Regions from separate parts of the Homo sapiens genome. Here region 2 is linked to region 1. Evidence: promoter capture Hi-C in 16 types of primary human blood cells and fetal thymus (Javierre and others, 2016). All regions are on one chromosome and are shown on one strand. Each heading gives the region's core, a stretch centred on a gene start or on the middle of the fragment in contact. The rest is flanking DNA. Distances are from core to core; before and after follow the strand shown. Region 1 holds the start of HPS3 (HPS3 biogenesis of lysosomal organelles complex 2 subunit 1). Region 2 has its middle 7.7 kb from the start of TM4SF4.

Region 1 (7,250 bases), core at 743-3,242:
GAGGGAAGGAAGGAAGAAAGTTCTCAAGACAACCCTTTTCAACAGAGTGCTACCCTAAGTGCATGTGCTATGGGCTAAATTGTGTCTTCCCCCCAAATTCATATGTTGAATCTGTAACCTCCAATACCTCAGAATGTGACTGTATATAGAGATAGGGCCTTTAAGAAATAATTAAGGTTAAATAAGATCATAAGGGTGGGTCCTAATCTAATATGGCTGGTATCTTTATAAGACAAGGGAAGGACACCAGGGATGCAGGCACACAGAGGAAAGACCATAGGAACACATAATAAAAAGGTAGTCATCTTCAAGCCAAGGAGAAGGGGCTTCAGGAGAAACCATACCTGCTGACATCTTATCTTGGACTTCTAGCCTCCAGACCTGTGAAAATGAAATATCTATTGTGTAAGCCACCCAGTCTGTGGTGTTTTGTTATGGCAGCCCTTGCAAACAAATGCAACCTCCCGCAAGGAATTGATGGTGTGCCATTGCTGCCCCTGCATTCGTAACAGGAATACAAGTGGGCAGCTCCTGCTCACAGCTCCTGACAAACGTGGAAACCAGACACATGCCCCACCTTCCCTTGGGTAGCATGTCTCTTCCCAAAGAATCTTAGATGAGTCAGGTGCAGTGACTACAGCAAGGAAGAAGACACTATCTCTAGGAAGGAATGGGGTTCCAGGTTTTGAGCAAATCTCACTTCTTTCTCCAAAACAGACATTCTTTTTATGCAGGTGAAATTACACTAAAGTTAATATCAGTCTTCATTAGGAGAAAATTGAATTAGGATAATTAAGTCTTGAAGAAGAAAATTAAGCCAAAAAGAATAATATGGCAGATACTTGTGGAAAGGAATCTTTTTTACTATTGATTTTGATATTTGCTCTTAAGTTTTGTATCTAGAACAAATAACTTGTGGACTATTAGTCTGGTTGTTTTCCATAGGAGCCTTCTGTGATTTTTTGCAGCCCTAGTTCCTGACCTGAGCTACCTCCATGTTTACTTCTCTAACTCACTGAGTTTGACGAACCTGTTGTTTCCCATTACTTAGAGGTACTTTATTCATCTGAAGGGCCTAGGAAAGGGAGGCAAGTTTAACTTCAATCCAATTGCATCTAATTTACAAATTCTGAACTGGAAACTGACTGAAGAAAATGTTGCACTTTCATTTATGTCCCTGTGTGCCTAAATAAAACAGCATCCCTCAATCCATGCTAACACATATATTTTCTAGGTGAACTGGACAAAGTTATACTACTTGTTTTATCTAAATCTGATTTTTTTAGAAAAGGGAAAGTGTTGCGATCGTGAACTCCACGTTGAGATGTCAGGAATAGATAATTTACTGCATAGTTTTAGGAGCACTGGACTGAAAGCCAGGGGATTTCCCTCCTAGTTCTTCTATCCTCTGGGGCTCAAACTAGTCTTTTGTCAAATGCCTACAAGATGAAGTCCATGGATTCTTTCTTTCAACAAATATCTTTTTGCCAAGCACGTTCAAGGCTTTGCTCTTTCCAGCTGAACTATTCTAGAATTTCCATTATTTTAAAGCAACTCTTCAGAGTGTTTAGCCCCGAGTTGCACCCCATTTCAGTTTTTGCAACCCCATCCTCCAGAAGCTCAGGGACTACTGAAGAGACATGAATAACGCTCCTCAAAGTAAGTACAAAATGTTACAAGATAGATGATGAATTGTCAGAACGTACTCAAAAGCCAAAACATACCGCCTGGCCCAAAGCAGTAAAAGACGAAAGGCAGGGACCCAGCGGTCCCCGCACCCACCGGCCACTGAGCATAGAGCAGTGGCAAGCTCGCGCGGCGGAGTGGGAGGCGCAGAGACCGAAAGCACTGCAGCGCCAGAGCGCGGGCTGACCAGGCTGGCGTGACCGCTTTCCCGACGCCTGCCACGCCCCGCGGCGGCCTCTTTAAGTAGCGGAGCCGCGGGCGGGGCCGGCTGGCGTTCACGTGACCCGGCGTCATTGGCTCGCTCGCGGAAGTAGTCCTACATTCGCGGTCAGCGCGGGGTCTCCGGGCGCCCTGCAGGGCGGGCAGGCTGTGCCATCCCGCCGGACGTCGGGATGGTGCAGCTGTACAACCTGCACCCGTTCGGGTCGCAGCAGGTGGTGCCCTGCAAGCTGGAGCCGGACCGGTTCTGTGGCGGGGGGCGTGACGCGCTTTTCGTGGCGGCGGGCTGCAAGGTGGAGGCGTTCGCGGTGGCCGGCCAGGAGCTGTGCCAGCCGCGGTGCGCCTTCTCCACGCTGGGCCGGGTGTTGCGCCTGGCCTACAGCGAGGCTGGTGAGTAATCTAGAGAGCCAGGGGCCGCCTGGGGTCCAGCTTGAGGCCTCCTAGCTAGCGGACCGAACGTCTGGGCTGTAGCTCTAGCTAGGGATGGGACTTCTTGCTTCCCGGAATTTGCCGGATGGTCTCCCTGGGTCTGGCCGCTGATTGCTTGAAGTCGCATTGAGCTATGCGGTTGTCGCGGCAAGCATAGGTATGAGCTTGCTTCTGTCGGGGCGGAGACGCTGACATCTCTTCGTCTTGGTTTTCTGCAGAAAGGCCTCTGGCTGGATTCCACTCATCTCGGATACTTAAGCAAACAACAACAAAAAACTCTTTAGTGCATCAGATTTCAAAGACTTACCAAAAAAACAAGTAGGAATAAGGAGACTAGTACTGTATCCCGGAACCTCCAAGTACTCCCAGCTTTAACAATTATTCCAACTCTTGGCAGTTCTTTCACATCTGTACCTCCATCTACTTCCGGTCGGTTTTTGAAAGCTCACATTATGTGTTGATTTTTAAATGTGTGTAAGTAGAACTCAGACTGCCCCCCTCTCTTCTCTTAAACATCTGTGGCCGGGCGCAGTGGCTCACGCCTGTAATCCCAACACTTTGGGAGGCTGAGGCAGGCGGATCACGATGTTAGGAGTTCGAGACCAGCCTGGTCAATTTATTGAAACCCCGTCTGTACTAAAAATACAAAAATTAGCCGGACGTGGTGGTGGGCGCCTGTAGTCTCAGCTACTTGGGAGGCTGAGGCAGGAGAATCGCTTGAACCGGGGAGGCGGAGATTGCCCCATTGCACTCCAGTTTAGGCGACAGAGTGAGACTCCGTCCCAAAACAAACAAAAACAAACAGTTGTAAGAGCAGCCGTTACTCTTTCACACCAGAAATGTGAAGCAATACCAAGGAAATACTGTGTGGGTGAATCCTATTTTAGAAAAATCCAACATTTAAAACTAGATCCCTTTTAGATTACAGAAGAATTTACCATATAATTCCTTTAATACACTTACCTTCGATTCATACTTTACAAGATGGGTGTAAAGTTCAGTATTTACGTTGCAAAAGCTGGTGGCTATGCTATTAATGAAGTGGAGAACTTGAACCTGGAAGATTGGAGATCTCTCTCTAATCCCTACCCCGCAGCTGGTTCGGTGTGAGTTTATAGAAACCTTGGGGTCTGAGTTTATGTTAAAAAAAAAAAAAAAAAACAAAAAGTTGAATAAATAGATCAGTGATATCCAGACCCTGGGATTTCGTGGCTCAATTAAAAACTGTGGGGTTACCATACATAGTATCTGACTGCTTATTTTGTCAAGTAAAGACATATACAGGCATACCTTGTTTTTTTTGCATTTCACTTTGTTGTACTTTGCCGATACTGCGTGTTTTTTTCTCCCCAATTGAAAGTTTGTGGCAACTCTGTGTGGAGCAAATCTACCAGTTCCATTTTTCACACTGCATGTGCTCACTACATGTCTCTTGAGTCACATTTTGATAGTTCTTGGCAATATTTCAAACTTTATCATAATTATTGTATCTATTACGGTGATCAGCAATCTTTGATGTTACTATTGTAGTAGTTTTGGGGTGCCATGAACTGTGCCCATGTGAGATGGTGAACTTAATTGATATGTGTTGTGTATGTTCTGATTACTGCTCTGATCGTCTCTGCCTGCTCAGGCTGCCCTAGGCCCTGAGACACAACAATATTGAAATCAGGCCAATTAATAACCCTACAATGTCTTCTAAATGTTCAAGTGACACTTGGACGTCTCTCACTTTAAATCAAAAGCTAGAAATGATTAAGCTTAGTGAGGAAGGCAGGCGTGTCAGAAGCTGAGATAGGCTGCACGGTAGGCCTCTTGGACCAAACACTTAGCCAAGTTGTGACTGCAAAGGAAAAGTTCTTGAAATTAAGTGTTACTCCAGTGAACACAAATGATTAGAAAGCCTTATTGCTGATAGGAAAAAAACTTTGCTCTAGGTAGAAGATCAAGCCAGCCAAAATACTCCCTTAAGCCCAGGCTTAATACAGAGCAAGGCCCTCTGTTCAACTCTGTGAATGCTGAGAGAGGTGAGGAAGCAGCAGAATAAAAGTTTAAAGCTAGCAGAGTTCAGCTCATGAGGTTTAAGGGAAGAAGCTGTCTCCATAATATAAAAGTGCAAGGTGAAACAGCAAGTGATGATGTAGAATCTGCAGCAAGTTATCCAGAAGTCCAGAAGATATAGCTAAGATGAGTTTATGGAGGCAGCTGTGCTAAACAACAGATTTTTTCAGTGTAGACAAAACAGTCTTAAATTGGAAGAAGATGCCATCTAGGACTTTCTTGGCTAGAGAGGAGAAGATAATGCCTGGCTTCAAAGAACAGGCTGACTCTTGTTAGGGGGTGATGCAGCTGGTGACTAAATTGAGGCCAGTTCTCATTTACCATTCTGAAAATCATAGGGCCCTTTTAAAAATTATGCTAAATCTACTCTGCCTGTGCTTTAGAATGAAAAAAGCCTGGGTGACAGCACAGCTGTTACAACATTGTTTACTGAATATTTTAAGCCCACTGTTTTGATCTACTGCTCAGAAAACAATATTCTTTTCAAAAGATTACTGCACATTGACAATGCACCTAGTCCCTCAAGACCTCTGATGGAGATGTAGAAGGAGATTGATGTTGTTTTTATGCCTGCTAACACAGCATCCATTCCGCAGCCCATGGATCAAGTAGTAATTTTGACTTTCAAGTCTCATTATTAAAGAAATACATTTGGTAAGGCTATAACTGCCACAGATAAGTGATTCTTCTGATGGATCTGGGCAAAATAAATTGAAAATCATCTGGAAAGAATTCACTCTTTCTAGATGCCATTAAAAACATTCAGGATTCATGGAAGGAGATCAGATACCAACATTAACAGGAGTTTGGAAGTAGTTGATTCCAACTCTCATGGATGACTTTGAGGGGTTCAAGACTTAGGTGGATGAAATAACAGTAGATGTAGTGGAAATAGCAAGAAAGCTAGAATTGGAAGTGGAGCCTGAAGATGTGTTGGAATTCCTGCAATCTTATGATCAAACTTGAATGGGTGAGGAGTTGCTTCTCATGGATGAACAAAGAAAGTGGTTTCTTGAGATGGAATTGTTTCTATTGAAGATGCTGGGAACATTGTTCAAAAGACAACGAAGATTTAGAATATTTCATAAACTTAGTTGATAAAGCAATGAGAAGGTTTGAAAAGATTAACTCCAATTTTGAAGTTCTGCTGTGGGTAAAATGCTATCAAATAGCATTGCATGCTCCAGAGAAATCTTTTGTGAAAGGAAGAGTCAATTGATGGAGCAAACTTAATTGTTTTATTTTTTTATTTTATTTTATTTTATTTTATTTTTTTGAGACAGAGCTTCACTCTTGTTGGCCAGGCTGGAGTGCAGTGGCGTGAACTCGGCTCACCACAACCTCCACCTCCCAGGTTTAAGCAATTCCCAGCCTCAGCCTCCCAAGTAGCTGGGGTTACAGGCATGCGCTACCACTTGTGGCGAATTTTGTATTTTTAGTAGAGATGGGGTTTCTCCATGGTTGGTCAGGCTGGTCTCAAACTCCCGACCTCAGGTGATCCACCCGCCTTGGCCTCACAAAGTGCTGGCATTACAGGTGTGAGCCACTGTGCCCGGCCCATTGTTGTCTTATTTTAAGGATTTGCCACAGCCACCCCAGCCTCCAGTGACCACCACCCTGATCAGTCAGCAGCCATCAGCATCGGGGCAAGACCCTTCACCAGTGAAAAGATATGTCTCGTTAAAGGCTTGGATGATCGTTAGCATTTTTTTTAGCAATAAAATATTTTTAGTTAAGGTATGTACATTGCTTTGTTTTTTTGTTTGTTTGTTTTTTAGGTATAATGCAATTTCACACCTAATAGACTATAATCTAGTACAAACATAACTTTTTTATGCACTGGGAAACCAAAAAATTTATGTGACTCTTTTTATTGCATTATTTGCTTTATTGCGGTGGTCTGGAAGCAATCCTCCAATATCTCTGGGATATGCCTGTGTTTTTTTTTAAAAAAAATGAAAAGCCTTACTATTTACTGTCATTATTTATAAAAGAAAAAACACTTAGCATCAAACATTGGATATCTTTAGCTTTGTGAACAACTTACTCTGCTGTCATTGGTTTTTTGTTTTTGTTTTTGCCTAATGACAACATTAGCAGGGGCCTGCACTGGGCCACGGACCTGTTTGAAAAACCTCTCATTAACTCTTTAAGTTCCCTTTCAGCAGGAATATTCCAATTTTGGTATTATAAAATCTGTCTTTAATGGTCATACCTGTTAAAATATTGGTAGTTTTCTCTACGTCACTCCTTTTAAGGCATAAGAGTTCTCACTTTCAAGAGTTCTACTGAGTAACAAACTCACCACTTTCAACTTTTATATGTGTGTGTGTGTGAGAGAGAGAAAGAAAGACAGGGACAGACAGGCATACACACAGACAGATAATATGTTTACATGATTTACTTCATTCTTCCAAGTGGATGTTTATTTTAGAATTTGGAGTGGCAGGTATTATGTAAACTTCTAGCTTTCTTACCTGTCGGATCCTTGGATGGCCACTACCTATGCATACGAATCACTTGGGGAGTTTTTAAAAATCTCTATGCCTGGGCCAAACCCTCAGAGATACAGTAGTAGTTTCCCTGGAGTGAGGACAGCATTGGGGTGAGTCAGATATTTAATCAGGGTTGAGAACCGCTGATCTAGAGCAGTACTGGCTGCAGGAGGCCATGAGTAGCATTGTAACCTCATTAACGAGGCCTTGAACAATAAAGATGTTTTTATAATCCAGTTGGCTGCCTTACAGCAGGTTCAAGAGTCATGTGGGATGGAATTAGCATCACGGGTCATGTAGCTCAAGGGTAAGTTTCAGTCCACAGCTTGAACTTCAACCCCTGGGTACAGCTCCTATTAA
Region 2 (6,826 bases), core at 2,400-4,899, 340 kb after region 1:
TATACAGAGTGGAGTGGAACATCAGGAAAAGCTCCATATGGATTCATGTGCACGCGTCTGGAGGCACCAGATCCCTCCTTGGCAGATCCAAGAACAGGGATCTGGATCTTGGATCATTCTAAAACTGGAATGACAGGAGGAGGCCATTCCTGTCATTCTAGTTTTAGAAGCTCCACATCGAAGACGAGAGTGGCGTGTGGTGGGATGATGCCTGGGTGCCCAGTGGCACCGTAGGCATAATCTGGAGATACAGTCAGTTTGGCTGTCACTAAATTGGCGGGTCACCGCACTCATCTGGACAACCCTTTCTTCCCAGGCTGGGATCACCTCCTGCTTGCCAAGCATAAGCTTAAAGGGCTTTTTCTGTCCCAGGAGGAATCAAATTTCTTTCCATCTTCAAGCATCCCGGTGTAGTGCATCACGCAGGTCTGGCCGCGCTTCAGGAGGGTGTGCGCGTCTCCTGGGGCGATGGTTTCCACCTGCACTCCCATGGCGGCTGCGGACGCTGGGTGGGCAGGCAGCGCGAGGGGCGGCGTGGACTCACAGCGACCTGGCAGCGGTTCCATGGCTCTGCCTAGTCCCCTTTCGCCGGGTTTTAACCACATATAATTTTGCTCCTCTCTGACTCTTGTTGGGGTTGTAATAGACTTTAGACAATCATTTCCAGTTCCAACCATGATCTGGTTCAGCCTTGGATGCCGCAGGCAGCGTCTGTGATGTCTGTTTCATACACCCTTTGGAAAGTCCTACGCTCAAGGCAAACAAGTTTGCCGCTGCCACATCCCCTTTGAACAGACGTACCAGTGACTATGAGCTTATCATCTGGACTGAAACAGCAGTCAATCATTGGGAACATGGTGGGAAGACCCGAGGCTGAAAAAAGTGCTTATTAAATTGTCGGATGTCCCATAATTTTAACGAATCATCACCTCCACGAGAGGCAAGGACATTACCATCATAGGAAAAAGTCACGCCAAGAAGTGTCTGTGCCCAAGTAATGAGGCTGTTTATAGTTGAACTTAGGATGAACCGTCAGATATCGGTCCCAGATCTGCATGCTTCCATTCTGGCAGGCGGCTGCTATGAGATTTCCATCTCTACTATATGTGCACGTTGTGGGAATGACATTTTTTTGTTCTGCATCGTCCGTGGTTTAAACACACTTTTTTTGTTTCTTTGGGTTTTCAATTTCCCACGTCCTCACAGTCCTGTAATCCAGGACAGTATAAACATTCTTGCCCCTGCTGGTTCCACAGTACTCCTCTCCTGGGTACACTTCCGTATTTCTTGCTGAACTTAAAATGCCAATAGAAGCTATTTCTTCACCTCCGTCAGGGTTACACTTCAGGAAAAGGAAGCAGGGGTTTTCATGTTGGTTGTCCGGGCCTCTCTTCAAACTCACCAGATCCTGGCCTGCAGCACGCGGCGCCAGCAGCTCCTCACTTTCGAAGTCGCGGGCTCTGAGACTGCCCGAGTGAGAAGGAGGCTGTGGGTCAGGGCCCCGCCCTGCGGCATCCCAGGAAGAGGACAGCGTGGGGCCGGAGTCAGGCCCGGTCCTGGGTCCGTGTCTCCATTCCGCCGCCTACTGCCAGGCCAGCCCAGCCCCGGAACTTCTCTTCCAGTGCTTGAGGGTCCGCCCGTGCAGTGTGGAAGTGGGCAGGCAGGGTGACTTCCAGCTCACTCCCCTGTCTTGTATTTTCCATAGTCTGGTTTAACAGTTGTATGTCGGTGGCAGTCATTATCGTCATCATCACTATTATCAGCGCGTATTTTATGGTGCCTTGATTAAGTGGAGGCACCGTGCTAGGTACAGTTAAGGACTTTACCTTTCTATAAGATACTGTCACCGTTTTTAAGGAGTGTCCCATCTCCATTTCTGGCCCAGAGGTAAGATTAGAGGTTCTGACATGGTGATAAGTTTGAAAAACAGATACAGCCCTGAAAGTCCCGGGAAGAAGGGAGGAGGAGAGGGAACAAGCTTCAGAGTGCTGGCTTCCAAAGTCCTTCCGCAGATAGCCAGTGTGCTTCCAGCTGCTCAGTGGGAAGAGACTCAGAAATAGTGGAACGCTGCAAGGAGGTCAAAGGAGAATGAAGCCTGAGACATGGCCACGGGGTTCAGTAACGGGTAATGGCACTGATGAACTTGCCATAGTGAGACTGGGACAGGAACCAGATGGCAAGAGGTTAACAAATCAGAGGGGGCTGGGAACTGGAGAGACAGGCTTGGTCAAGAGGAGAAAGGAGCAGGGTCAAGGGAAGATGTTTCCAAGACAGAATTCAAAAATGGAAAAATTTGATTATTTCTGGTTGTTTGATGGGTAAATGGGAGTTCATTATACAATTCTCTATACCTAGTGGGTATTTTTTAACTTCTTTAATAAAAATTTAGGAAAGGCAAAGTGAGAACTGAGACTGTGTGAAGAGAATGAAGAGATAGGTAAGAGAGGATACTAAATCTTTAAGACAGAATAATGATAATTGGTGGTACAGTCTCAGGGAAGGTTTAGAGATGGGAACAAAAGCACCAGTGAGGGAATTAATCTGCTGACAGGGGAAAGATAATAAAAATGGATGAAGATAAGAATAAAATGTGGATGAAAGAGGAAAGTGTTCATATAAAAATATTATAAGGCTGAAAGGAAGATGGATGAAGGAACTTGGGCCTTCATTTCTGCAAGTGGGAGGAGAGGTTATAACTCTCAAAGGAGTTGGGGCGAGGGAGGAGGGAGGGTTTGAGGAATGTGGAAAAGGGTTGGAATAACAGTTGCGGAATGCAGTAGGGAGTGAGTAAGAGGGGAAGATGACTGTTGAGAAGCAGGCCCATCTAAAGAAAGGCAGCCCAAGCTTTTAACCGATTCATACTTTGACAACCACCACCATAAAGCATGCAGAAAACAGCAAGCTAGAGTGATGTGGGGTCTCTTCCGACCCTAGAGCCTTCTGAAATCCCTAAGCTGGCAAGTGACTGTCCCAAGAACAAAAGTTTGTTAGAGCAAGTAGCAACTACTTGAAACACCCCACAATGAGCTGCTCCAGTGGGAAGTCTAAGGAAGGGCATCCATTTGCCCCAAAGTAAGCAGAGTAATAAATGTGTCCAGCCTCAATGTATGGCCCTCCGACTGCCAGAATCACCTGAAGCTTGTTAGAAATTCAAAATCTAAGGCCCTGTCCCAGACTTTCTAAATCAGAATCTGTATTTTAACAAGATTGCAGATGATTTACATGCACATTAAAATTTGAGAAGCCTTGGTCTGTAACTTTGCTAGAAGCTTTGATATACATATGGGTAATCACAGAAAAGCTAATGTCAATTTAAAAATAAATTGGGCCTCTACATTGTGCCTCACACTGTGAAGACCACCAAAGACCTGGATGCATTTCTCTACCCTTTAGGTTTAATCACAGTAGTTATTGCAAGTAGGAATTATTTTTGCAATTGCAGTTCAGTCTTGAAAACCTATAAAAGGGAAAAGGTTTATCTAACTTTGACATTCTGTGAATTGGAACTGATTATTCAATTTTAAGCAAGGGAGTTTATCATTTGACCTTGCTTCTGGACTCTCCACCACTGTCAGTGGCAGGGTAGCTCAGGTGCACTTAGAGCAGTCACACATCCTACCAATTACTACACTGAGTTACTTCCTTTTAAAACTTAGTTTTAATGTTTTTACCGCCTTAGAATTTGGTCTTATCCATAATTTTTGCTCTCTTTGCTCAGTCCTTTGGCAACTAGAAATCCATAGTTAGAGTCAGTGAGAGCATCTTTGAGCAGTGGGACAACATGTCCCTTCCAACTCGTTGGCATTGCTCTTTTCTTTCATAAGACACGCACTCAGTCTAAAGAGTGTGGGCTTGGGTTCAAGTGCTGACTTGCTTTCTAGCTGTGTGGTTTTGAGCAAACTCTTTACCCCCTGAGCCTCAACTTCCTTCCATATAGCAAAGAGGGAGGTTACTGGGTTACTATCACCCATCTCAGAGGGACATTGTGAGTTAATATTGAAAAGCATTAAAGTTATACCTAGCATGTAACAAGCTTACAGTAAATATTACTACATAATGTAATTTTATCAAAATTCTATTCTTGGCAATGAATAGTTTCAAAGGAGCCTATTCAGGGGAGCCTTCCCTATCCTGACTGGAATCCCCCTGTTACCCTATATGCTTTCATAGCTCTCTCTAGTCCATGGAACAAATTATAGTTTGTTATTATATGTTTTTGAGACGGTTTGATTAATGAAAGGCAACATGCGTAGAGGTTAAGAGCACAGACTTTTTTTTTTTAAACTAGATTGCTTGAGATCAAATCCTGTCTCCTGCTACTAGTGATGAGATCTTGGGAAAGTTACTTAATCTCTCTGGGATACAGTTTCCTTATGAGTAAAATTCAGATTAAAATAGAACCAACTTCATACAATTGCTCTGTTTTCTGTTATTAGCATTATTAATATCTATCTTCCTTTTCTTATAAGCTCTGTCCATTTAACACGTCTCCAGTACCTGACACATCAGTGCTCAAAAAATGTGCTAAAAGAATAAATATACAAAAGCTAAAATTGACCCCCATGAAAGTTCACTGACATGAAATTTTAAGACAGTTGTTTTTGATGTTTTTTTTTTTTTCCAAATTGTGCTTGCTGTCTTGGTGTTGTTATCATTTCCCAATATGTTTGTAAATTTTTATAAGCAAAAATTATTTGGAAAAATAATTTTTAAAAACTAATGGGGAAACACTTGTACAAAGGCACAGACAAAAAGAATAATACATAATTATATAAAGTCAGATTTATAGAAATTAAAAACACATGCAGTGTTAAAATTTCTCTGCATTTTAAAGCCATAACATGAATTTTTAAACTTGGTTTCTTTTTGAACCCATGTTTAATTTTAAAAAGAAGATGAGGAACCGCAGTTAGTGATGTTTTACCTTACGGAGAGTGGGTGAGGGGTGAGTTCCTGTTGAAAGTTAACTTCTCACCTATAACCATGATGATATCAAAGAATGCTAAAACAAATCAATATTTGGGCAGGTCATCTGGGACAGATTTACCAGCCAGAGCTCATGCCTCTCTGAGAGGTCACAGCTGTGCCCTTTTGTACTGAGACCTGCATTAGAGAGGACTATATAGCACCCCTTTGAGTCATGAGGCAGGAAGAGATTTGCATTTCTCATTCTAATTTTGAAAACAACTGGAGATACTTTTAAGGTGTAGATGGTGCCTGCTAGCTCCTCAAGTGCAAATCCTAACTCAGGCTGTGTCTACCCATACACAATTGTGGGAATTATCCAGATAATTTACCCTGTAGCAGAGAAAGGCCCTTGATTTAAACCTAAATGCATGCAGGCTGTCCTCTCTGTGTTGAGCAAACAATAGGTACCAGTCTTTGGTTTCTGAAGCAGGATATTGTGGTGATTAAGAGGATGGTCTCTATAATCAGACTCCTTTGGTTTAAATCTACCTTTATCTCTGTGGTGAATTAAAGCTGGCCAGAAATTCTCTGACATTTCTTTCATAAAGAGGTGAGGTCTATGTTCCCTCCCCTTGAATTTGAGATCATTCTGACTACACTGACCAATAAAATTGGCCAAAGTGACCCTGTCCCATTTTCTGGCCCAGGCCTTAAGACAATGGCAGCTTCTACTTATATCTCAGAGCCTTATGTTACCATGTAAAAGTCTAACTACAGTGTTGCAGAAACCACATGGAGAGCCCTGAGACTAAAGGAAGAAAAAGAGGGGCCCAGCTTTATATGAGCCCAGTGTTATAGCTGTTCCCATCAAGCCACCTTGATATATAAGTGAAACCACCTTGGATTCTGCACACCAATGTGGCCACAACTGAACAACAGCAAATAACCGCAATCAATACTACTTGGAGCAGAATAATCACCCAGTTTGTCTCAACCCATCTTCCTGACCCACAAAATCCTGAGATAAAGTAAAATGATTATTGTTTTAAATACACAGTTTTGAGTTGGTTTATTATACATCAAAAGATAACCAGTGGCCTGATGTGGTGGCTTACACCTGTATCCCAACAATTTGAGAGGCAGAGGCAGGAGGATTGCTTGAGCCCAGGAGTTTGAGACCAGCCTGGCCAAAATGGTGAAACCCCGTCTCTACTAGAAATACAAAAATTAGCTGGGCATGGTGGCACATGCCTGTGTTCTCAGCTACTCGGGAGGCTGAGGCAGAAGAATTGCTTGAACCTGGGAAGCAGAGGCTGCAGTGAGCTGAGATTGTGCCACTGCACTCCAGCCTGGGCAACAGAGTGAGACTCTGTCTCAAAAAAAAGAAAATTAGCCTGGTATGGTGGCATGTGCCTGTGGTCCCTCAGGAGGATAAGGCAGGAGGATCGCTTGAGCTCAGGCAGTGAAGGCTTTGGTGAGCTGAGATTGTGCCACTGCACTCCAGTCTGGGTGACAGAGTGATACCCGGTTCCAAAAAAAAAAAAAGATAACCAGAACAGTGTTTACCACTTGTTTTTGTTTCCTCATCTCTAAAATAGGGACAATAATGTCATGTAATTGCTTGCTTCTATAGAGCTCGATGACAACTCTAGATAGTGAGATAGAGACATCTGAGAGGGAGGTCTGTTTCTTCTAGTTCTCCAGACCATGTGGCCCTTTAGTAGTTCAGCCTCTCCCAGGACCCCGGTGCTTTAGGGAACACTCATGTTGAAGTGGCCCAGGCATGGAGGAGTCAGTCATGAAGCGTCAGAGCTCTTAGAGAATAGTGACTGTCTTCCCTTAGACAAAATATTTCACATTTCTTTGTTCGTGGAGGCCAAGTTGGCTCTCAACCCTGCTCCCAGCTCACCAACTTGGC

Evidence for each region. Contacts are between HindIII fragments. The CHiCAGO score rates a contact against its expected background, and 5 or more counts as called.
Region 2: a fragment that was not itself captured here is called in contact with the fragment with the promoter of HPS3 in region 1 in 1 of 17 cell types (M1 macrophages); the score reaches 6.5 in M1 macrophages.

What each region holds. Positions count from the first base shown.
Region 1 is chr3:149,127,646-149,134,895 of GRCh38, forward strand. HPS3 (HPS3 biogenesis of lysosomal organelles complex 2 subunit 1) reads left to right here and starts at 1,993. Exons shown (of 17, transcript NM_032383.5): 1 at 1,993-2,295. The coding sequence starts at 2,079. RefSeq lists enhancers at 1,994-2,253, 2,035-2,534. The HindIII fragment of the contact is 10,979 bases long and covers 1-4,092 here.
Region 2 is chr3:149,463,624-149,470,449 of GRCh38, forward strand. It overlaps the pseudogene FKBP1AP4. Among named protein-coding and RNA genes, the nearest start is that of TM4SF4, 7.7 kb to the right of the region's middle. RefSeq lists enhancers at 1-502, 503-1,002. The HindIII fragment of the contact is 764 bases long and covers 3,268-4,031 here.